Linked DNA regions of Homo sapiens: all the other regions are linked to region 1. The links are contacts of gene promoters, found by promoter capture Hi-C in blood cells and fetal thymus (Javierre and others, 2016). All regions are on one chromosome and are shown on one strand. The core of a region is centred on a gene start or on the middle of the fragment in contact, and the rest is flanking DNA. Distances in the headings are between cores, read along the strand shown. Region 1 holds the start of NKD1-AS1 (NKD1 antisense RNA 1). Region 2 has its middle 5.4 kb from the start of BRD7. Region 3 has its middle 4.6 kb from the start of LINC02128. Region 4 has its middle 17 kb from the start of LINC02178. Region 5 has its middle 5.9 kb from the start of LINC02168. Region 6 has its middle 54 kb from the start of LINC02178. Region 7 overlaps CYLD (CYLD lysine 63 deubiquitinase).

What was found. Contacts are between HindIII fragments. The CHiCAGO score rates a contact against its expected background, and 5 or more counts as called.
Region 2: a contact is called between a fragment that was not itself captured here and the fragment with the promoter of NKD1-AS1 in region 1, in 9 of 17 cell types (non-activated CD4 T cells, naive CD4 T cells, total CD8 T cells and 6 more). The highest score is 13.7, in non-activated CD4 T cells.
Region 3: a contact is called between a fragment that was not itself captured here and the fragment with the promoter of NKD1-AS1 in region 1, in 1 of 17 cell types (neutrophils). The highest score is 5.0, in neutrophils.
Region 4: a fragment that was not itself captured here is called in contact with the fragment with the promoter of NKD1-AS1 in region 1 in 6 of 17 cell types (naive CD4 T cells, total CD4 T cells, naive CD8 T cells and 3 more); the score reaches 9.5 in naive CD4 T cells.
Region 5: a contact is called between a fragment that was not itself captured here and the fragment with the promoter of NKD1-AS1 in region 1, in 4 of 17 cell types (non-activated CD4 T cells, activated CD4 T cells, neutrophils and 1 more). The highest score is 9.0, in non-activated CD4 T cells.
Region 6: a fragment that was not itself captured here is called in contact with the fragment with the promoter of NKD1-AS1 in region 1 in 4 of 17 cell types (non-activated CD4 T cells, naive CD8 T cells, total CD8 T cells and 1 more); the score reaches 6.4 in non-activated CD4 T cells.
Region 7: a contact is called between a fragment that was not itself captured here and the fragment with the promoter of NKD1-AS1 in region 1, in 1 of 17 cell types (non-activated CD4 T cells). The highest score is 5.6, in non-activated CD4 T cells.

The regions. Positions count from the first base shown.
Region 1 is chr16:50,612,008-50,615,074 of GRCh38, forward strand. NKD1-AS1 (NKD1 antisense RNA 1) reads right to left here and starts at 1,643. Exons shown (of 3, transcript XR_007065197.1): 1 at 1,584-1,643. All of the region lies in intron 4 of NKD1 (NKD inhibitor of Wnt signaling pathway 1), which reads left to right. The HindIII fragment of the contact is 2,641 bases long and covers 9-2,649 here.
Region 2 is chr16:50,372,890-50,375,956 of GRCh38, forward strand. No RefSeq gene overlaps it. Among named protein-coding and RNA genes, the nearest start is that of BRD7, 5.4 kb to the left of the region's middle. RefSeq lists a silencer at 1,849-2,143. The HindIII fragment of the contact is 5,152 bases long and covers 1-3,067 here.
Region 3 is chr16:50,833,899-50,836,965 of GRCh38, forward strand. No RefSeq gene overlaps it. Among named protein-coding and RNA genes, the nearest start is that of LINC02128, 4.6 kb to the right of the region's middle. RefSeq lists an enhancer at 1,883-3,067. The HindIII fragment of the contact is 1,380 bases long and covers 908-2,287 here.
Region 4 is chr16:50,410,248-50,413,314 of GRCh38, forward strand. No RefSeq gene overlaps it. Among named protein-coding and RNA genes, the nearest start is that of LINC02178, 17 kb to the left of the region's middle. The HindIII fragment of the contact is 4,017 bases long and covers 1-3,067 here.
Region 5 is chr16:50,811,056-50,814,122 of GRCh38, forward strand. No RefSeq gene overlaps it. Among named protein-coding and RNA genes, the nearest start is that of LINC02168, 5.9 kb to the left of the region's middle. The HindIII fragment of the contact is 5,044 bases long and covers 1-3,067 here.
Region 6 is chr16:50,447,583-50,450,649 of GRCh38, forward strand. No RefSeq gene overlaps it. Among named protein-coding and RNA genes, the nearest start is that of LINC02178, 54 kb to the left of the region's middle. RefSeq lists a silencer at 996-1,290. The HindIII fragment of the contact is 8,671 bases long and covers 1-3,067 here.
Region 7 is chr16:50,768,293-50,771,359 of GRCh38, forward strand. The region is part of intron 5 of CYLD (CYLD lysine 63 deubiquitinase); the gene reads left to right. Among named protein-coding and RNA genes, the nearest start is that of CYLD-AS1, 27 kb to the left of the region's middle. The HindIII fragment of the contact is 2,515 bases long and covers 198-2,712 here.

The DNA of each region.
Region 1 (3,067 bases), core at 393-2,892:
CTTTGCAAAGCTTCTTTAATCCTGTTAGAATCTCCAAAGGCCTCCCCGTACTCCTGGTGCCTGGAGTAGGGTCTGGCATGCTGTATGTGCTCAATAAATAAACACTCACTGAAGAAGGAAAGTCAATACCCTGTAGTCACTGAAAGCAGGTGACCTCTCCCTCTGCCTCACTGAAAGCAGGTGACCCCTCCCTCCGGCCTCTCAGGCAGGACCTGTGTACCTGTGTTGGGGCCTGGGCCAGTCTGTCCAGGCTCCCAGGGGTCAGATGTTGGGCAAAGGAACTTGGGAGGCCTGTACTTCCTTTCATCTGTAGTTGGAAAACTGAAGCCCAGAGAGGGAAGTGACCTGTCCAGGGTCACACAGCAGACTGAGAACAGAATCTGGCCCCTCACTCCTCACCATTCAGTATGTGCTGGGCATTTGCTGCAGCTAGGGGCTCTGCTGGGCCCTGGGTTCACAGGCACGAGCAAGGTAGGCAGGCCCAGCAGTCACGACATTCACAGGAGGGAGGCAGGGATGAATACATAAATCTGCGAAGGAGCATGGAAGTTTCTAGTAGTGGTTCTCTGCTAAGACGTAAAACCCAGGGAGAGGTAGAGTGAGGAGGCTTTTCTGAGAAGGTGATGTTTCAGCTGAGATGCAGATGCCAGGAAGGAGCCAGCCATGGAAGAATGTAGGGGGAGAGCAGCTATGAGTGAGCAGAACCCCAGAGTGGAGGGAACTTGGTGTTTGGGGAAGAACAAAAAGGAGGCCGATGTGGCATCAGGAATGAGAGTGGGGTGGTCGGCAAGTGTGGGACCACGCCCTTAGGTTGCGTGGTTCTGCCCAGATGGTTGGGTGGGTGACTGCTGGATTCTGACCTCTGTTTTAAGAAGTTAATTCTGGCTTCTGGGAGGGACTGCCCATGGGCAGGGAGGAAGAGGGCAATGAAACCAGGAGGTGACTGCAGGGTCGCAGGCGAGAGGAGATGGTGCTGGCCTAGCCTGGGAGCTTGGGGCTGGGGAGAGGTCCATGGGGCTGGAGGTTGGAGCTGGTGAGAAGGGGGTTGAGGGAACGAGAGAGATCAGGGATGCATCTTAGACTTTTGGTTTCAGGAACTAAGGATTTGGCGGTGTCACTTCTGAGGTGGAGGTTTTGGCGGGTGACCATCAAGCCTCCCGTTTTTGGACCAGTTGGGTTCAAGATGCCCATTTAACATCCAAGGAGAGGTACCGAGGAGGCCGTGGGATACCTGGTGATTGGAGCTTGGGGTTCAAGGAGCAGTTGGGCAAGAAACAGAGAGAGAGAGCGAGTCAAGACTTCTCAGGAAGTAGCCACGGACATTGCCCGGGACTCTCGGGCAAGGCTCCTCAATACACAGGGCTGGCGGTGGCTTCCCAGGAAGGCTGGGAGGAAGAGGAGTTCATGGGAAGGCAGCAGGGACCCCCAGATGGAGGGGCAGGTGCCCATGCCCCGCCGGCTCCTCTCCCTCAGTTCAGAGCCTGTCCTGTCGGGGGGTGTCAGCGGCCCTGACTCTCCACTCCCCTACAGTCCCCCCAGAAGCTGAGTTGCAGCGGTGACAGAGAACAAGCGGACTTTGTTACCTTGGCAGTTTCTCTCAAGTCTGCTCCTCATAAAAGCTCAGCTGGAACAGTGGAAATTCTGACTTGTGTCAGATACCGGAGAGGCTTTAATAGTTTCAAGTAGCTCGGGGTTAGATTGTAAAAGCCGAATTTCATCACATGTTTTAACTTGGGTGGGGGCGGGCGGGGGAGAGTGGAAGGGACGTGATATTTTTAGCCCACAGAAGGCTTTTTCTCCCCTTTCCCCTTCTCTCCCGGGGCTTCCCCCTCCCTCCCTGAACAGATGTTTCGTCTCAATCCTGTTCAGATGTCAAAGCCGAGTGGCCACCAGCCTTATGCTCTGATGAGGAAAAAAAGGCCAGAATGTTATTTGTTGAGAAGGATTTCCTCCCCTACCCGCTTTTCCCCCTTTTTTGTTTCCCCTCAGTTACAATTGGTCCATAAGCAAAATCTAGTGGCAGTAAAATGCAGCTGGGAGGCAGGATGGTGGAGAAGAAGTCCCTGGTGGCATTTCTGGTCTCAGGAAGGGGCAGACACCCACAGGTGAAAAAGCTGGAAATCACCCTAGAGGGACTGCCCTGGGTGAGTGAATTACTGCTGTGGTGCTGGTGCTGGTGGTTTTTCCTAAAAAGCAGGATCTCAGAGAGACGGATTTGTTAAGTCAGGATTCTTTCGGTTCTTTTGGAAACTCACTTAAACTTTTGGCTCATGAAATTGAAAAATCCTAGGGTAGATCTTGCCTAAAAAGGCCTGTTTGGATTCTGGAGCTAAAACCATGTCATGGACACATGCACGCACACACACACACTCACACACACACGTATACTCACACATTCACACACATGTCTCGCTCGCTGCCCCTCTCTCTCCCTCTCCATCATCTCTCCCTCTGTCCCCTGGTGGCTTCTCCCCCACAGGGGGCAAGGGTGGCAGTTCCCAGCTCTGGGCACTCCCATCCTATGAGCACAGCCCTGTCAGGTGGAAGAAAGTTCCCAGGTCACAGGGGTTCTTGCACATGTTGGACTCACTTTATTGACCACTTTACTGGTCACTTGACCAGGGTAGATCTAGGTTTTATGGGACCTGAAGCTTTCTGGGGCCAAACCAAAATAAATATCTCACCAACTCAGTCTCTCCTTAGCTCATGTCCAGAAATGCCTGTATTTCCCCTAGTATCACCTCACACAGGCAAAGGATGTCAGAATGGTTAGATGACAATCTTAATAGATTGAGGATAAAATGCCTAATTTGGAAAATGTTACAAATACAAACACATATGACCACATAAACACCTTGCAAAGACCCATCCTGACTTGGAAAGGGCCCGTGTAGGTGAGAGGGCCCAGAAGCCTAGCTTCATTAGCTTCTTCATAAACTCTTCTTTCATACTGACCTAGGACCAGCCACGTGGCCTTCAGGATGAAACAAGCTGGGTCAGGTAGGGGTACTGAGTGCAGTGTGACCCTGGAGTGGGATCAGTCTCCATAAACTAGATAGACTGAGAG
Region 2 (3,067 bases), core at 375-2,874, 240 kb before region 1:
GTGAGAAATGTTCTGGCACAACACAGGCCTTCCCAAGTGTAATGGGGCAGACGGTGGGTGGGAAAGGGCCGGTTCTCCTGGATACTCCATGGGGATTCCTGCCCTCTGTCCTGGGGTGGGAGGTGGCATCCCCTGAGCCCAGGCTCCCAGCAGCTCCAGCTAGTGCCTCATTTGGCACCAGGAGCAGGTCTGGGCCTTCCTGGTGCCAGCCTGATGCCAGCCTGTGAGTGCTGCTGGGAGAGGCCTCAAGAGGCTGAGGCTGGTTCAGCAGGCAGCTCTGTGGGGAATCAGTGGCCTGGGGTGATTCGCTATGACAGGTTGTTGACAGTGCAGCTTCCAGGGTTGCTCACGGTCACTGGCGGAGCAGCCCCAGCTGCTGCCTCTGAGTGAGGAAAAGAGAGAGGCGGTGGATGGCCGCCATCCACGCAGGCATGCCACATGGCCTCTGCCCACACGGTCTCAGAGCTGCTTACTGGAGGGCAGCGAGCCCAAGCCATGACACTCACGGCTGCCAACCCCAAAAGTCATTTAGCCTCAGAGCCCTTGATCAAATAAGACAGAGGCAACATCAGGACCTTCCTTCCTTCTTTCAGTTCATATTTTCTGTGTGCCTACTATGTGCTGGGGGGTGCTAGGAACACGGTGGGAGTAAAATAGACACAGCCCTGCCCTTATGGAGAGCACAGTGAGATGCATGTTAGACAGAGAACACAGACAAATATTTAATCATGGCCATGCTAACGGTTAGAAAGGAAAACAGCAAGCTGCTGTCCAGATAGTGCTCTGACCCAGGCTGAGGGCTCATCCAGGCCTAACCTGGAGGATAAGTCTTGGTTAGGTGCCCTACAAGTGGAACCTGAGGCGTGGATCTGTTGGGGTGGCAATTGGGGAGAAGCTGGGAGAGAAGCAGGACGGGGTGGGTAGAAGCAGAGAAAGAGGTGGTCCCAGCCTCAGCCCCGTGCCACAGTGGTGGCGGGGCGAGGGGGGATTGGGAACATCAACTGTCCAGGGAACAGTCCCACCCTGTGGGAGGTGGCTGGCCTTTTGTAGCCCATGGTGGGCAGCGAGGTCTGCCTGATTGTCGCCTATTACAGAGGTGACTCTAGTTTGTCCCAGGGCAATTCTCTGAGGGAGGTGTGCGGCTGCCTTCCGTGAGTGGCCAACACTCCCAGCTGCTGGTGATGCCCCTCCAGCAGGATGTGCCTTCAGGAGAGGTGAGCCAAGGGGGCATCAGCTGCATCTACTAAACAGGCAGAGAGGTCAGCATGTGCAAAGGCGAGGGAAAGTTGGGTGCAGTCAGGGAGGAGAGGAGAGCAGGTTTGGAGCAAGAGAGATGATGGGGACTGTGTCTGGAAGAAAGGCTGGGCTGGGCAGAGCTTTTCAAGGCATGGCAGAGATGCTTGATTTTATTTGGGATGCCCATGAAGGCAGTGGACGTGGGTGCATGGCCATATTGGCAATTTAACAAGAGCGCTTTGGCTTCTGAATGAAGGAAGAATTGGAGTGGGTTAGGAGACCGGGCAGAGAGACCAGCTTAGAAGTGATGTGGTCTTCAAAGGGGAGATGGGGGTGGCTTGGTCTAGCGTGGATGATGTGGGGATGGTGCAATGGGATAATTCAAGAGTTATGTAGGAGGAAGAACTTAGGAGGGGTTAGGGATGCCTATGCAGAACCCAAGAGGAGAATCCAAGTAGGAAGGTGAATGCATGTGTCTGGGGCTTGGAAGGGAGGTGAGACCTGAAAATAGATTTTTGGCATAGAGATGTCTTTGGAACCTCAGGAGTGAATGAGACCACCCAGGAGGAGAGAGTAGAGTGATCAGAGAAGATGGAGCCTTGAAGAGCTTCAATATTATCTAACAGGTGAATAAAGGATGAGGAAGCAGCAGAGGAGACTGAGGAGGGGGAGGGAGGCAGGAGGAGAAGCAGGAGAGTAGGACACCCAGCAGGGGAGGACAGAGCACTGGAGCCAGGTGAGGGCAGTGGCGGGCTGAGAGTGTGTAGAGGAAGGAAAGCTCGGCCAGGCTGCAGGGAGCCTCTAAGCACTGGAAGGGCTGGGGGAGGGTGGATCAGACAAGTAGACTTGTGCATGCAAGGCCACTGAGGTGATGCTGGAGAGTGGGAGGTGTGATGAGACAGAGATACAGAAGGGAACACTGAGGCCTTGAATGACAGGCTGTGGGGTGTGGACTTCCCCCTGTAAAGTGGGATAAACCAGATGAAATGGTCACCTTGGAGAAAGCTGGGCATTTTCCAGGAGCCCCAGGCTGGGGACAGACCATGAGCAGCTCAGAAATGATCCTGCAGGCCCGGGCTCCCGGTCCATCATGATTCCTTGGAGTACTGCCCTGCGGACGGGGCCCAGGATTAAATTCCCTTCACAGAAAGTCACTATGTGTTTGATAAACTCTTATCAGACTGTGGCTGTGGGCTTGTGCCATGTCACCCAGATCTCTAATTTCATAGTCCTGGCTCTGCCAAAGACTGGCTGTGAAACCTGGACATGTCTCTCCCCTATCTCCATCTAAACAGGGCTGCAGAAAGAGGAGGAGTCAGTCAGATGCGCTGACTCATGCCTGTAATCCCAGCACTTTTGGAGGCTGAGGTGGGAGGATTGCTCAAGACTGGCTTGGGTGACGTAGCGAGACCCCATTTCTATAAAAAATTAAAAATTAGCCAGGTGTAGTGGTGCATGCCTGTGGTCCCAGCTACTCAGGAGGCTGAGGCAGGAGGATCACTTGAGACCAAGAGGTGAAGGCTGCAGTGAACTATGATTGTGCCACTGCATTCCAGCCTGGGCAACACAGTGAGATCCTGTCTCAAAAACAAAAAAAAAGGTAAAAAGATAAAGAAAGAGGACTCGACTGGCTGCTTTCAAGCTGTTGGTTCTAGGGAAGCACTTCTGACGCTCTGTCAGTGTCTGATAAAGACTTTGTTTTTAAAAATATGTGTGTATTTTAGGTTTTTCTTGATTCAGTTATTTAGTTTTAAACCTATTTATTGCCTAAGTAATTAATGTTTGTTATAGACCAATTGAAAATACAAATAGGTGTAAGGAAGATATTTCA
Region 3 (3,067 bases), core at 348-2,847, 220 kb after region 1:
TGCTGCTGCAGTCTCCTGTTTGGGTATGGGGGTGGGTGTCGGCTCCATTGGTTCCAATGAAAACCAATTCTGAACACAGTTATTTTGCTAATTTCTCTGCCAATCGCTCCACCCCCTCCTCTTTGTATTTGTTTACTCTGAACCCAAGTACCCTGGATCTTCTCTTACTTCCTCAGTAGCTCTGGCCATAGTGGTTGGCTGTGGTTTCCGCCAATCCTGCCAACCCAGTCCCATCTGCTTTCCATCTTCCAGGAATTGCAGACAAGTTCTTGTTTTTCCACATGTGGTTATAGATTCATTTTGTCTTTTAAATATGGCTTTTCTTTTGAGGAATTGGGGCAGGAGGACAGGTAGCTGGCTAGGCCTGTGTTGTCCTCCTGAGTCTATCATCTTGTGTACTCATTTTTCTTAAGTCAGGAGAGTCTTAGCCATGTTTCCATGGTGATGTGGTGGCCAGTAGGGGAAAAGGGAGGTTGAAGATGCAGAGAAGAGGTGACAATGGCTGCAGCGAAGTCCCTGGGAGAACATGAGGACTTGAAGTTCAGGTGGTGGGCTAGCTTAGGACAGGCAGGACAGGTCAAGAGCAGGCATAGGTGTAGGTGTGTTCCCAGGTTTGGTGGCAGGAAATGAACTGTGCTTCCATTTGTTCCTTCTGTGTTCCCTGTGAGATGGAACTTGAGGTTGTCATAGGCAGAAGGAGAGAGTTGAAGAGTAGAGCCAAGGAGCTCTAGAGAGGGGAGGATGTTTGAGATCACCCCTGTGAAGAGTGTGACAGAGAGCCACTTACGGACACAGAGGCTTCCTGGGTCACCCTGAGGCCACCCCTAGGATCAGATGCCCAGCCCAGAGAGGCTGCCCTGGCCAGTCCGGAAATACTCTTAGAAGAGTGCTGGTTGGGATGTGGAGAAGCTTGACAAGGTTCTGATTAACCTTTTCTACTGGGGATTCTCTTCACAAGGCCCAAGTGGACCAGAACTCAGCGGGCTGGGTTCAAGTCCTCATGGGGCCGCTTAGCAGCTGTGGGATGCTGGGAAGCCATGGCCCTCTCTAAGCCTCTTGTTCTCTCCTTTACTGAGGCAGTGGGGGCATTGACCTCATGGGGCAGCTATGAATAATTTACTGTGAACAACACTGGGACATGGCAGGGGGAGAATGTTGAAAAATTTGGTGGGGGCATTGTTATGAACTGGGCGGGGATACTTACGCCCTTATCATTTATTTTTACGTATCGAAAAACATTACTCGTAAAATCTAGAAAGAGAGTGATTGAGATGGGTAATACCATCACCCTCTGGCTAAGCTATGAAGCTGCCTCTTTTTTCCACCACACTTTGGGGGCCCTTTCCCCCAGTGCCTTGGTGTCCCCTCAATGCCAGCACATCCAATTTCTCTTCCGTCCTCTGCTCACAGATATGGATCTGGTATCAGTCATCTACATCTTAGGGGCAGTTTCTTAGACACTTGGGGGTCTGGAGGGGACACAGAAGCTCTTACTACTGATATTGCAAACCACTCTCCCATCCCCAAGCATCCAGTTTTGACATGGAAACCTCTTGAGGCCAGGTTGTTTTGCAAGGTAAGCCCAGAACACTCAAGCCCAAGCAGAAGACCACGCTCCTTTGAAACTGCATTTCTGCCATTTGGTTGTGGGATTGTTCAGGGGTGGTGTTTGAGATTGGGCGCCTTCTCCCTGCAGGCTCACCAGGCAACCACGGATTCCACTTGCCCCTGAATTAGATGGGTTGCTGGGGGTGCCCAGGCTTATCCCTGTGTGCCCACCTTGACAGGTAAGCTGTGACAGGGCCTCTCTGCTTTGGGCATAACTAACTTTATCCATAGAAGTTCTCAAGCATTGCTGGCTGTATCTGTACCTCACTCCTAGAAAGCAGGAGCTGCTCAAATACAAGTTGGTGTAATCACAGGGAAAGCCGAGCTTTGGCCGGCACGATCTGAAGTTTCTGCTGCCTGGGCCGTCAGCTCAGAGCCGGTGCTGTTTGTCAGCACCAAGCTCAACCACTGAGTGGGACTTTCTGGAGCATCCCAAGAGAAAAGTGAGACTTCAGTAGAGGACACAGAAACCTGTGCCCAGTGGGGGCAATCGGGAAACTTCAATGTGTGACTCGTTCTTTTCCAAAATTCCTCTTTTCCCCTTATTTAATTTTTTTTTCAGAAAAACGTGTGATTTTATATGCTTTTCTCTGCATGTATTAAACAAATTGCACAGCTGAATAGCTTTTCTTAAAACCTGGACATTCACCAAAAAGAAGTTTGCCAGCACAGACAATTAAGCTTTCTTCTTTGAACAATGGAGTGACTGACTGGCACATTTGAAATGCAAGCGTGTTTTTTTATTCCACTGTTCATCCTTCAAGCTGATAAACAGCAACAATGGGAAACAGCTGGGACAGGAAAACATTTGAGTTTGTATTTTCAAAGCAAGCAAGAAAGAAACCCGTCAGTGTGGGCCAGATCCCGTCTTCCGCCTGAGGGCGAGCCGGCATTTGGGGAGGGAAAAAAATACTATACATATTTCTAATCAAACATTACATATTTATTAATGTGCAGCTGGTGCATTGTATTCCGAGGGTTGGTGGTGGGAGTGTCTCTCCCCCCACCCCCACGCCACCCGCCTTGTTCCTCTAATGTGTCTTGCCTGGCAGGCTGGTATTGTTCTGTAACTGACATTACTTTATAAGAATCAGAGCTGCGCACATTTAATAGGAGTTATGGAGACAATTGCTCTCTGAGCGGTTGGGGTCTCTGTGACGTAGGTGCCATCTGAGCCTCAGTTTCTGTTCTGGGAGTGGACAGAATGGGCAATGGAGGTATTTTTAGGCAGATGTACCTGAGATACTGTTGATGGGGAAGCCCCCAGCACCTTCACTGCCACCCCTACACCACAGCCTGGGTCCCATCCATGAAGGCCATGGCTCCTGCCCACATGTCTGTGCTCTCTCTAAACGTGGGAACAAATTTATTTTGATGCTTATTGAGATTAAACTTGCTGCGCATTTCATCGGGAACAGGGGTTGGATCTGTTCATTAGGTGGGGAGGCTCACCTTGTCA
Region 4 (3,067 bases), core at 424-2,923, 200 kb before region 1:
GGATATGAATATGGACTTATTATTAGATGATATTTGGGAATTGTGTTGATTCTGTTAGACGTGATAATAACATTGTGGAAAATATCCTTATTTTTTGGCAATGCATGCTAAGTATTACTGTTATGTTGTCTAAAATTTACTTTCAAACGGTTCAGCAAAAAAATTTGAATTAAGCAAATATGTTAAATCTAGATGAAAGTTTACTCTTTTCCTATTCTATTCTATTTTTCAGTATATTTCAAGCATGTCTTCAAAACCTTAAAAATAGAAGTATTCCAGTACATACGAAAACCTTTAAATTTCTAAATAGTCTGGTCATACATAGCAAATATATGGGGCTGGTGACTGATTTGGGAAAAAACAGGCTATGCTATAAAATGCTGAGTTTATGGCCCCCACAGCGACAGTAACCTGAGGGAGGTGTGGGTGGTGGAGTCTGGGTGTGGTGGGCCATGGCTTTGCCACAGCTCATGAGACTCTCCATGCTGGTGGCCGGCAGCTCCTATGGGAGCCATTGCCGAGGTTTATGGTTGGGTTTACGAAATCCATTCAATACTTTGGCACTTGCACAAAAAATACATGTGTAAAGGTGAGTGTGCCCTTGGAAAATCTTTTTTTTTTTTTTTTTTTTAAACAAACCAACAAACAAGGCCACCAGGCCTATAAAATCCAGGTGAAGTCTACACATCGTGTCTCACCTCTCCCCTAGCCTCCTGATTTTACTGTCACTTCCCCTGAGGTTGAGGCCAACCATGGCTTGCCCTTAGATTCAGAAGCTGTGATCCTTGACCTTGACTGCTAAGAAAGGCATGTGCGACCTGGAACAAATTACTTGCCTCCTGGTACATTGGATTTCTCATCAGAAAACTGAGATGACAAAATCTCTCTTCAAGGTTTTGGGTTTTAGGTGAAATTCACATAACATAAGTTAACCATTTTAAAGCAAACAATTCAGTAGCACTTAGAACATTCACAAGGTTGTGCAATCATCACCACCCTCCATCTGTGGAATCTTTGCATCTTCCCAAACGGAAACTCTGTATCCATTAAACAATGACTCCCTATTTCCCTCTCAGTCTAGCCCCTGAAAAACCATCTTTCTACTTTCCATTTCTATGGAATTACTTACCCTGGCTATTTCCTATAAATGGAATAATATAATATATGATCTTTTTTGTGTTTGGCTTCTGTCTCTTAACATAATGCTTTCAAGGTTCACCTATGTTGTAGCATGTGTGAGTTCTTAGCTCCTTGTTATGGCTGAACAACATTACTTGTATAATACCACAATTTGCTTATCCATTTGCTTGTTAATGGACATTTGGGTTGTTTCCACCCCTTGACTATTGTGAATAGCAGTGCTATGAACATGCATATATAAGTACTTTTTTGAATCCTTGATTTCAATGTTGGGTGTGTATCTAAGAACGTAATAGATGTCATATAGTAATTCTATGTTTAACTTTTTGAAGAGCTGCCAAACTATTTTCCACAGTAACCAAAACATTTCACATTCCTGCCAGCAAAATTTGAGGGTTTCATATTCTCTACATCTTCACCAATACTTGTTATTTTCTATTTTTTTGAATGTAGCCATCCTAGTGGGTGTGAAGTGGTATCTCATTGTGGTTTTGACTTCCACTGCCCTAAAAATTAATGATGTTGAACATCCTTTCATGTGATTATTGGCCATTTGAATATCTTTTTTTTTTTTTTTTTGAGACAGAGTCTCTCTTTGTCACCCAGGCTGGAGTGCAGTGCCACAATCTCAGCTCACTGCAACCTCTGCCTCCCGGGTTCAAGCAATTCTTCTGCCTCAGCCTCCCAAGTAGCTGGAACTACAGGTGTGTACCACCATGCCTGGCTAATTTTTGTAAGTGCTGGGATTATATGCTTGAGCCACCACACCCAGATTCATTTGCATATCTTCTTTGAAGAAATGTCTATTCAAGTTCTTTGCCCTTTTTTTGAATTAGGTTGTTTGTTTTCTTGTGTGTTGAGTTCTAGGCATTCTTTATATATTCTAGATACTAATCCCTTATCAGATATATGATTTGCAAGAATTTCCTTCAATTTTGTGTGTTACCTTTTTACTCTCTCACTCTTTTTTTTCTTTTTGAGACAGGGTCTTGTTCTGTCACTCAGGCTAGAGTACAATGGCGTGATCATGGCTCACTGCAGCCTCGACCTCCTGGGCTCAAGAGATCCTCCTGCCTCAGCCTCCTGAGTAGTTGGGACTGTAGGCATGTGCCACCACACCCAGCTAATTTTTTTTTTTTTTAGAGATGGGGTCTCACTATGTTGCCCAGGCTGGTCTTGAATTCTTGGGCTCAAGTAGTCCTTCTACCTCAGCCTCCCAAACTGTTTGAGATTACAGGCGTGAGCCACCACACCTGGCACACTCTCTTGATAGTGTCTTTTGGTGCACAAAAGTTTTAAAAGTTGACAAAGTTCAATGTATGTATTTTTGTTGTTGTTTCCTTTACTTTTGGTGTCTTTTCTAAGACTCTATTGGCAAATACAAGGTCATGAGTATTTATCCCCATGTTTACCATGGGGATTACAATTAACATCCTAAATATATAAAAACTTAGTTGGAATTAATTCCTACTTAGTTTCAATAGCATACAAAAACTCTGTTCCTATGTACCTCAGTCCATTCCCTTTTAAAGTCATAAATTACATCTTTATACACTGTTTGCCTATTAATATAGAATTTTAATTGTTGTTTTAGGCATTTGTCTTATAAATAAGTTAGAAAACAAAAAGTGGAGTTAGAAACCAAAAATATAATTACACTGGCTTTTATATTTATCTATGTAATTATTTTTACCAGAATTCCCAATTTCTTCATATGAATTTGAGTTACTGTCTAGTGTCTTTTCAGCCAGAAAGGCTCCCTTTAGCATTTCTTTTAGGCCAAGTCTAGTAGTGACAAACTCTCTCAGCTTTTTTAAAATCTGGGAATGTTTTAATTTCTCCTTTTAAATTGCTTTTGTTTGATTGACTTTGTTTATTTTGATTGTGGTAAAATATAGGTAACAAAATTTACTGTTATGGCCGGCTG
Region 5 (3,067 bases), core at 332-2,831, 200 kb after region 1:
AGGTTTTGAACTTATGTAAAGGGAGTCATAGATCGTGCACACTTCAGGTAGTGTCTGATGTCATGCTGTGTGCATCCTTCAGACTGTCTCTGTTGTGTATGTCAGTGATTCTACTTCATAGCTATGTGATGCTCTCTTACGTAAATATACAATCGTTTATTTATGGTTCTCATACTGATGGAAAGGGGCATTGCTGACAGTTTGGGGCTACTACACATGACCCTACTGTGATCCTTCTTGAATTGGTGGATTTTAGCTTTAGGAGAGACAGCTGCAGACTTTTCCAAAGTTTACACTCCTTCCTTCTTTCATTATTATTTTTTAACCAACTCCACTGAGGTGTAATTTACATACAGTAACATACACATATTTTAAGTAAGCAGTTAGATGAGTTTTGACACATTCATGAATTTATTTTTTATGAGACCAGGATCTCACTATGTTGCCCAAGCTAGTCTCGAACTCCTGGGCTCAAGCGATCCTCCTGCCTCAGCCTCCCAAGTATCTGGGACTACAGGCATGCACCACCATGCCCAGCCAATTTTAAAAATTTTTCGTAGAGAAGGTGATCTTGTTATGTTGCCCAGGCTGGTCTTGAATTCCTGACCTCAAGTGATCCTCCTGCCTGGGCATCCGGAAGCTCTATTACAGGCATGAGCCACCACTCTGGGATCTGACAAACTTTCTGTAGTGTTGAAGTTCAGTGACTTGGAGTAGTCACCTCCAGCTCAAGGTGCATGTGCCTGTGTGTTTTCTCCTTTTTTTGATAAAACCCAGGCTCAGCACAGGGTCGAGAAAAAGACTGAAAGTCAGCCCAGAAAGCAGTGTAGAAAGTAGAAAGCTAGTCTGGACTACCATTAGCATCAAGGACCTCAGTCACTGGAGCCATTGAGATGGGTCCACCCCTTCTCCCTCTCTTTCTCTCTCTCTCTTTTTCTTTCTTTAATTCATTAGCAAGAGGGTCTGTCTCACTATGTTGCCCAGGCTGGAAAACCTGGGCTCAAGCAACCCTCCCATCTCAGCCTCCCAGTCCCAGCTCAATCTTTCTTTTTAAAGTTGGAGAATTTTCTAAAGTTCTCCAACTTTAAAGGCTGCTGCCTAGGGAGGCAGGGCTGCACCCACGGGCAGAGTTAGAGGCAGAGCTGGAACAGAACCCCAGCATGGGAAGTCCGTGTTCACGGGGGGCCATTTCACCCTGGGACATTGTAGGGCAGCTCGAGGCTCTGACTAGGGAGGCCCAGCGCCTGGGGCTGGCGCTTGGTCCGAGCTCTGCAGGCTTTCCTGGGTGGAGAGGAGCCTCTTCCTGCCATGCACACCAGGCCTTCCTTAAGTGACTCAAACACCAATCTTCCTTGGGCTTCCTGAACTGTGAGGATTCCACAGTCTGGCAGGGCTGGTGGCCTCAGCCGTACACTCTGCAGCCAAGAGGGCTCTAGCTCCTGATTCCACCCTGTCCCTCAGCGGCTCCCCAGTGCTCTTCCAGGCCTTAGGCCTGCACCATCCCCACCTCTCCCTCCTCACCAACCTGCCACCTCCTGCCTCAGGTGGACACACTCAGGAGGAAGTCAAGCCTGTCCCTATACAAAAGCCATATTCCCAGGCACTTGCCTGAGTAGAGACGAAGTCTCAGCTCCTTCTACGTGAGCCCGAGGTGCCCACGGTCCCCACACCCCCTCCAGGAGTCCTTGCATTTGCGCAATGCTTTATACTCATCTGTCAGCTCGGCAGTGGGTCCCCCAGAGGGTGAAAACCACATTGTCCCTGTCTCATCAGCAACCAGAACAGGGGGCACCAACTGTGGCCTCCTCCCATATTTGTCGGGAGACTGAATGATTCTCAGGAAGCTGCGCGGCCACCGGCCATTTCACATGGGCATTTCCAAGCTGGGTGCTTTTTGCACCATGCTATTTTGGGCGGGAAGACTTTTCCAGTCCCTTTCTCCTTGGCATGCCACAGAAGAATTTCCTTCACCCACATCTGGATCATCTAGAATTACCCAGTTCAGCCTGTTGCTTTCAATGGCAAACGTCCAGTGCATGGTGTTGGCTCATTTTCATCCCCACTGTCTAGGAGCCCTTGAGCCTTGAGCTTTGGTTCACTATGGGCAGTCTCTTCCCTCCAGGCCTTGGCTAGAGCCAGGCAGGGACAGTGCCCACTCAGGGGCCGATCCACCTCGCTGGGGGCCACCAGTTCGAGCTGGGTGCTCTGTGAAACCAGTCATACCCAAGCTACTGGACTCTGGTCACTCCATGATCCTTGGCAAGATGTCTGTCTATGAACCGCAGTCCCTCTATCTGTAAAATGAAGGATCCTAGACTGGGACTCTCAAGCTCACTTGCCTACAGGGGCCAGGCAGGTACCTTAGGGAAGGGAGAAGGTTGGAGTGTTGGTGGAGAGCTGATATGGTAAAGGAAAGGAAGAAGCAGGCCAGTATATTCTGATTTTTTTTTTTTTTTTTGAGACGGAGTCTCGCTCTGCTGCCCAGGCTGGAGTGCAGTGGTGCGATCTCAGCTCACTGCAACCTCCACCTCCCGGGGTCAAGCAGTTCTCTGCCTCAGCCTCCTGCGTAGCAGTGAGTGCCACCATGCCTGGCTAATTTTTTTGTATTTTTAATAGAGACAGGGTTTCGCCATCTTAGCCAGGCTTGTCTTGAACTCCCGACCTCGTGATCCACCCGCCTCGGCCTCCCAAAGTGCTGGGATTACAGGCGTAAGCCACCGCACCTGGCCTATGTTCTGATTTTTCAGACGAAGTCAGAAATTTCTAAGAGAAGCAAAAGTTCCTGATCTGTACAAATCTGGCAACTTTTCTTTTTTTTAACTCTGTATGTGCCAGACGCGTTTAAGCCAGAGCAGCTCCATCTTGAATAAGGGCTGGGTAAAATGAGGCTGAGACCTACTGGGCTGCATTCCCAGCAGGTTAAGGCATTCTAAGTCACAAGATGAGCTAAGAGGTCGGCACAAAATACAGGTCACAAAGACCTTGCAGATAAAACAGGTTGTGGTAAAGGAGCCGGCCAAAACCCACCTAAACCAAGGTGGCGACAAAAGTGACCTCTGGTTGTCCT
Region 6 (3,067 bases), core at 384-2,883, 160 kb before region 1:
GTGATTCACCCGCCTCGGCCTCTCTAGGTGCTGGGATTACAGGTGTGAACCACCGCGCCTGGCTGGGTCTTTCAATTAGAGAGAATTCAGTGGAGGGAACTGATTATACAAGAGACATGAGGGCTGAGAAGCCAAGCAGAGAAAGGTAAAACAGCCCAGAGGTTAGCAACTGTGGGAAATTGCTACTACCAGGAGGCTGGAAGGAGAGAGAGGAGGTGGAGTTGTGAGAGCTTGAGAGCTAGGGCTGTGCAGCAGGAGGCTGAATTTGAAGGTTGGTGGGGGCTCTCTGCTGGGAGCTGAGAGCTGACACAGTGGTGTTGGGGACACCACAGGAAACACAGTGAGGGGAGAAACACTTTAGCTTTTCTCTCCCCTCGCTCTCCACAGTGCTGCCCATTGGCCAAACCAACCCAGAAACCAGGTGGCCAAGAAGTCCAGGGAACGTCACTCCTGGATACAGAGCAGAGCGTAAGGGCAGAGATAAGACCCGATATCAAACGGGCAGGTGACTGGCACAGGAAATTCACATCACTAAGGAGGATCCAGCACTAAGGGTGGTAACAGCAATCACTGATTAATGGCATCACTCGGGGCTTTCCCTGCAGTGGTGCCCTTGCACCCGGGAGAACTCGCTTACCGGTGAGGAAGTGAAGGCACAGTGCTGTCTGCATGGTCACTTAGCGGGGAGGGGAGAAGCGGCTGTCACCCTGCCTCCTGCTCTGGACTCCGCTGTCCCTTTCAGGCTGCAGATGCCCTCCAAGGCTGGTCTCCACTGGTCCTTAGGAGCATAGGCTCTGGGTTGAGTGATGCCTCCCTCTGACAGCACCGCACATGGAGTGTGGAGTTCTCAATAAAGGGTAGTTATTAACACGTCCATGGCCCCATCTTACGGCTGAGAAAATTGAGGTGCCAGCAGTTATGGGACACCCCCTCGCCCCCGCCAGGTTTCCTAGCTAGCTGGTGGCAGTGCTGGGAGCTTGAATCCATCACTTCTGGCTCCAAAGCGATTACTCTTAACTTCTGGGGCCCCTGCCCAAGCCAGGATACACCCTGGCACTCCTTCTTGTGGCCACTGTTGGGATCCACACCCAGGCCCCTCTCTGGCTCATTAACTCTGCCAGGACGGCTGGGCTGCCTGGGCTCAGGCGTGACCCACACGCCCAATTAGAGGGATTCAAAACGCCATTTACTTATCAATGACCTAAGCTCATTTGATTATGAAGGATGGAGCCCAAACTGTTCTCTGAAGCCACTGTCGTCCCTCAGCTGTGCCAAATCCTCCCTTGATCTGCTAATCCTGAGTTTATAAGGTTAGGAGATAAGCAGGCGGAACGCAATTCTTTTCTTTTTTGGTCCACCTAAGTGGCCATGAAACCCCTAACCATCATAGACCTCTCGGGCCCCTGTGGCCTCCCTGTCTGAATAATTCAGACGGTGTGTGAAGGAAGCCCCCACAGTCCTGGTACGCACAGGCCATCTGGGGCAGGCACTCCCCACCGATCAGCCTGGCTCTTCCTTCTCCTGCTCTTCCTTTTTTTCCCTCCTCTTTCTTGTACTGGCCTTTTTATGCTCACCTCAGGCTTGGGAAAGCCAGGCAGCCAGCCCAGCCGGTGACCCCGCCGAACCGTGGGGACCTGCTCCTCCTTGCGCCCCCTTTTGTCCCAGGCACAAATAGATCCCTCCGCCTCAAGCCCCATTGCGTGATATTCACCATGAAGAGGTGATAGACCCTGTCCCTAAGACATTTCCATTCTAGTGGGGGACAAGACTTCAGCCACTTGAGCCCAAACCATACTTAGGGTGTTCCTGTGGAGAAAGACCCCAGGTGTTTACAACACAATGCTCGCTGAAAGAGCTGAGAGACTCCTCAGCCGGACAATGGGGGTGTCAATCCCAGCTTTCACCAGCTGTGTGACATTAGGCAACCAGTTAGCCTCTCTGAACCTCTGTTTCTTCATTAATAAAATGGGGATAATGAAGGTACCTGTCATCACTAATTTAATTCTCACAATAAGAAGCAAATGGGGACACCTACAGCCTGGTACAGAATAAACCCTTAATAAAGGACATTGGTGATGACTTTTGTTCTCTATAACTACGAGGACAGCTTATACCACACAGCATTTCCCACACGCCCATTCTGCAGTGGATCTGTGGCTGCTGTCTGTCCTCACAGATCTCAGACACGAATTGGGAGGACCCTACCATGTTTCTCATGCCAATGATGGGAGAGAGATCCCGGGAAAAGGGATTGAGATCCATATGGTGGGTGGTCTCAGGGAGACATTGCCACGTGCTCTTGCAAACAGCTCTGGCTGTCACTCAAGCTACAGACTGACGAGGGCTACAGGGGAGAGCTCAGCAGGTCAGAAGAGGCCCGGGCCACTTTGAAGAGAAACAGTCTCATGGTTCAGCCCGAGCCTGACAGGTTGGAGAGCTGGGCCTGGAAGGCAGGTGGCCTGACCTATTTAACATGGAATTCATGCTTTAGATGCAAGAGGCTTTCAAGGGTAAAAGCTGGACCCAGGGGAGAAGAGAGAGGCTGAAGCAACATGGCCTGCTTGCCTTCCGCTGGGGGGTGGCAGAGAGGGGGTGAGGACAGGAGCACTGCTTTGGAGTCTGGAGGCTGCTTCTATCCTCATTCTACTTCCTACCAGCTCTCAGTCCTTGGCCGATTTGCCTCACCTGGATGAGCCCCCCTTGGCCTGGCGCCTGCCTCTCTGTTTTTCAACTTTGAGTTCCTTTGAGCTGAGATAGGTTTATTCATCTCCGTATAACCCACATGTCAGTAGAGATCACCCCATTTTTAAGAGGTTCATGAAATAGACATAAACTCTGTGTTCACATCTTGGGGTACAGGTGACTAGTGACCAAGCCAACCTGAGATTTCTGCCGATGTCTGTGTTCACGCCTTCACAGTCACTTTTAGCTCTGCCTGCTGCTCCCCTCCAGCCATCATCTCTCCTCCATGACTGCTTCTTTTCTCCACTCTGTACTGGCTCCGAAGTGGACCCACACTCTTTCCCCACATCTCCGTCAAACACCACTTGCACAAGTGATTCCGTTG
Region 7 (3,067 bases), core at 205-2,704, 160 kb after region 1:
TACTTAAATGAGTCTTCATCTGCCTTTCATGTCATCATTAGGACTCTTTTCTTGAGGGGAAAAAAAAGTCAAAGTGTCTCCTTTAGTTCCTTAGTTTCTTTTTCTTGCCCAATTACCTTCATCCGTGAAACAAAATTAATATTTACAGCATTTAAAAAAGAAAAAAGATTCTTTTCAGAGCAGTTGAATGGCTGGGAAGCTTAGGAAAGAATTCTTTCTAGTCAATTGCTTGTAATAGTTGGCTTCTGAAGGATACCTTTGATTGAAAGATGCAGGAATCTTAAACCTGTTATAAAATTGTTTCTCTCTTATATTTCTGTTCTAAATGGTTAAAAACACTGCTAACATATCTAATTTGACATTATGTTCATGTTCTTGAAGTTGTTATGATGAAGCATATCAATTAGCACCACCCCAAAATTATACATTTCGGTTTTTCTAGTTCAACCTGTGTCTTCTGTTCTAGTTGTGGGGGTTGGGAGTATAATGCTGTTTTTTTGACGATCTCTACGATCAAGATAGTGAACATATCCATCACCCCAAAATATGTCCCTTGGGATCCCTCCCTCTGCCTCTTCCTGTCCTCTCAACCCCCTACATTCAGACAACCACTGGTCTTCTTTACATCAGTATACACTTGTTCACATTTTTAAGGATTTTACAAAAGTGGAATAACTCAGAATGCATTCTTTTTTGTCTGGCTTATTTCACTCGACATAATTATTTTTTATTCATCCATGTTGTCCTTTTTATTGTTGATATGGTTATATTAGTTTCTATATCCATTCACTTGTTGATGGACACTTGAGTTTTTTTCAGTTTTTGGCTATTATGAATAATGCTGCTATGAAAATTTGTGTACGAATCTTTGTATGGACATATGCCTTCATTTCACTTGGGTACTTACCTAGATGTGGAATGGCTGGTAATATCATAGGTGACTGTTAACTTAAATAAAACCCCCAAACCTTCCAAGCTGTGTTTCCAAAGTGGTTGCATTATTTTACATTCCCAGAAGCAGTATATGAGAGATACAGTTCTTCCATATCTTTGCCAACACTTGGTATGATCAGTTTTTTAAATTTTAGTAACATCTAATTGTGGTTTTACTCTGCGCTTCATTGGTGACCAGTGATATCAAACATCTTTCCATGTGCATATTTGTCATCTGTATATCTTCTTTGGTTTAGTATCTGTGAAAGTCTTTGGCCGATTATTAATTGTTTCTTTATGATTGGGTTTTGAGAGTTATTTATAAATTTTGAATACAAACCCTTTTGCAGATATATGCTTTACAGCATTTCAGATTATTATAGATTCACATGCAGAGAGAGGGACCCTGTGTGCCCTTTAGCCAATTTTTCCCAGCGGTAACATTAACATGTTGTAAAACAAGACGTGTGCAACATCACAACCAGAATGTTGACCCTGATACAATCAAGAAGCAGAACATTCCCATCCCACAAAGATCTCTTATCTTGCCCTTTTACTGCCGCACAAATTCCCTCTTCCTCCTGCCCCATCCTTAACCTCTGACAACCACTCATCTGCTGTCGATTTCTGTAATTCAGTCATTTCAAGAATGTTACATAAATGGAGTTGTACAGTATGTAACCTTTTGAGACTGGCTCTTTTTTCACTGAGCATAATTCTCTGGAGATTTATCTACATTATTTTATATATATCCATGGATTGTTCCTGTTTATTCCTGAGTAATATTCCATATTATGGATGTATCAGTTTGTTTAACTGTTTAGCTGTTGAAGGACATCTGGTTTGTTTCCAGTTTTTGGCTATTATGAATAATGCTTTTATAAATATTTGTGTGTAGTTTCCTGAGTGCACATAAATCTTTATTTCTTGACATAATTGTCCAAGTGCGTATTCGGTGATATTTGCAAATTTAGTTTCTTAAGAAACCGCTAAACTGTTTTCCAGAGTGACTGTACTCTTACTTTACCACTGGCAATATATGGGTAATCTGGTTTCTCTGTATCCTTTCCAGCATTTGATGTTGTCCCTATTTTTAATTTTAGCCATTCAGAGAGATTTGTAGTTGTATTTCACTGTGATTTTGATTTGAATTTACCTGATGGCTGCTGATGTTGAACATCGTTCCGTGTACTCACTGTCATCTGTATATATTCTTTTTCTTTCTTTCTTTTTTTTTTTTTTGAGATGGAGTCTTGCTCTGTTCACCCAGGCTGGAGTATAGTGGCGTGATCTCGGCTCACTGTAACCTCCACCTCCTGGGTTCAAGTGATTCTCCTGCCTCAGCCTCCCAAGTAGCTGGGATTACAGGTGTGCGCCCCCGAGCCCAGCTAATTTTTGTGTTCTTAGTAGAGAGAGGGTTTCACCATGTTGGCCAGGCTGGTCTCGAACTCCTGACCTCAAGTGATCCACCTGCCTCGGCTTCCCAAAGTGCTGGGATTACAGGCATGAGCCCCTGCACCCAGCCTTCGTATATATTCTTGAGTGAAAGGTGTCCTCATCTCTTTTGCCCAGGTTCTCATTGGATCCTGTGCTTTTTTACTGTTGAGTTTTGAGAAGTCTTTATGTATTCTAGATACTAATTCTTTGTTCAATATATGGTTTGCACATTTTATTTCCCAATGTGTAGCTTGTCTTTTCATCCTCTTAATAGGGTCTTTCACAGAGTACAAGATTTTTATTTTTATGAAGTCCAATTTATAGTTTTTCTTGTGTGGGTCAAGCTTTTGTGTCAAGTTCGACAACTTTTGTTTAGCTCTACATATGGAAGATTTTCTCCTAAGTTTTTAAAAATTGAAATGTAATATGTTGTGCAACCCTCACCACTATCCAGTTCCAGAACATTTTCATGGGAACCCAGTACCCATTAAGCAGTTACTTCCCATTGTCTCTTACCCTGAGACCCTGACAACCACTGATCTGCTTTCTATCTCTACAGATTTGCCTATTCTGGACATTTCACATAAATAGAATAAAAGATATGTGGCTTTTGTGTCTGGCTTCTTCAGTTAAGCATAATCTTTTCAAGGTTCATCCGTATGATAGCAAAATCAGTACTCTAACCTTCTTTATGGTT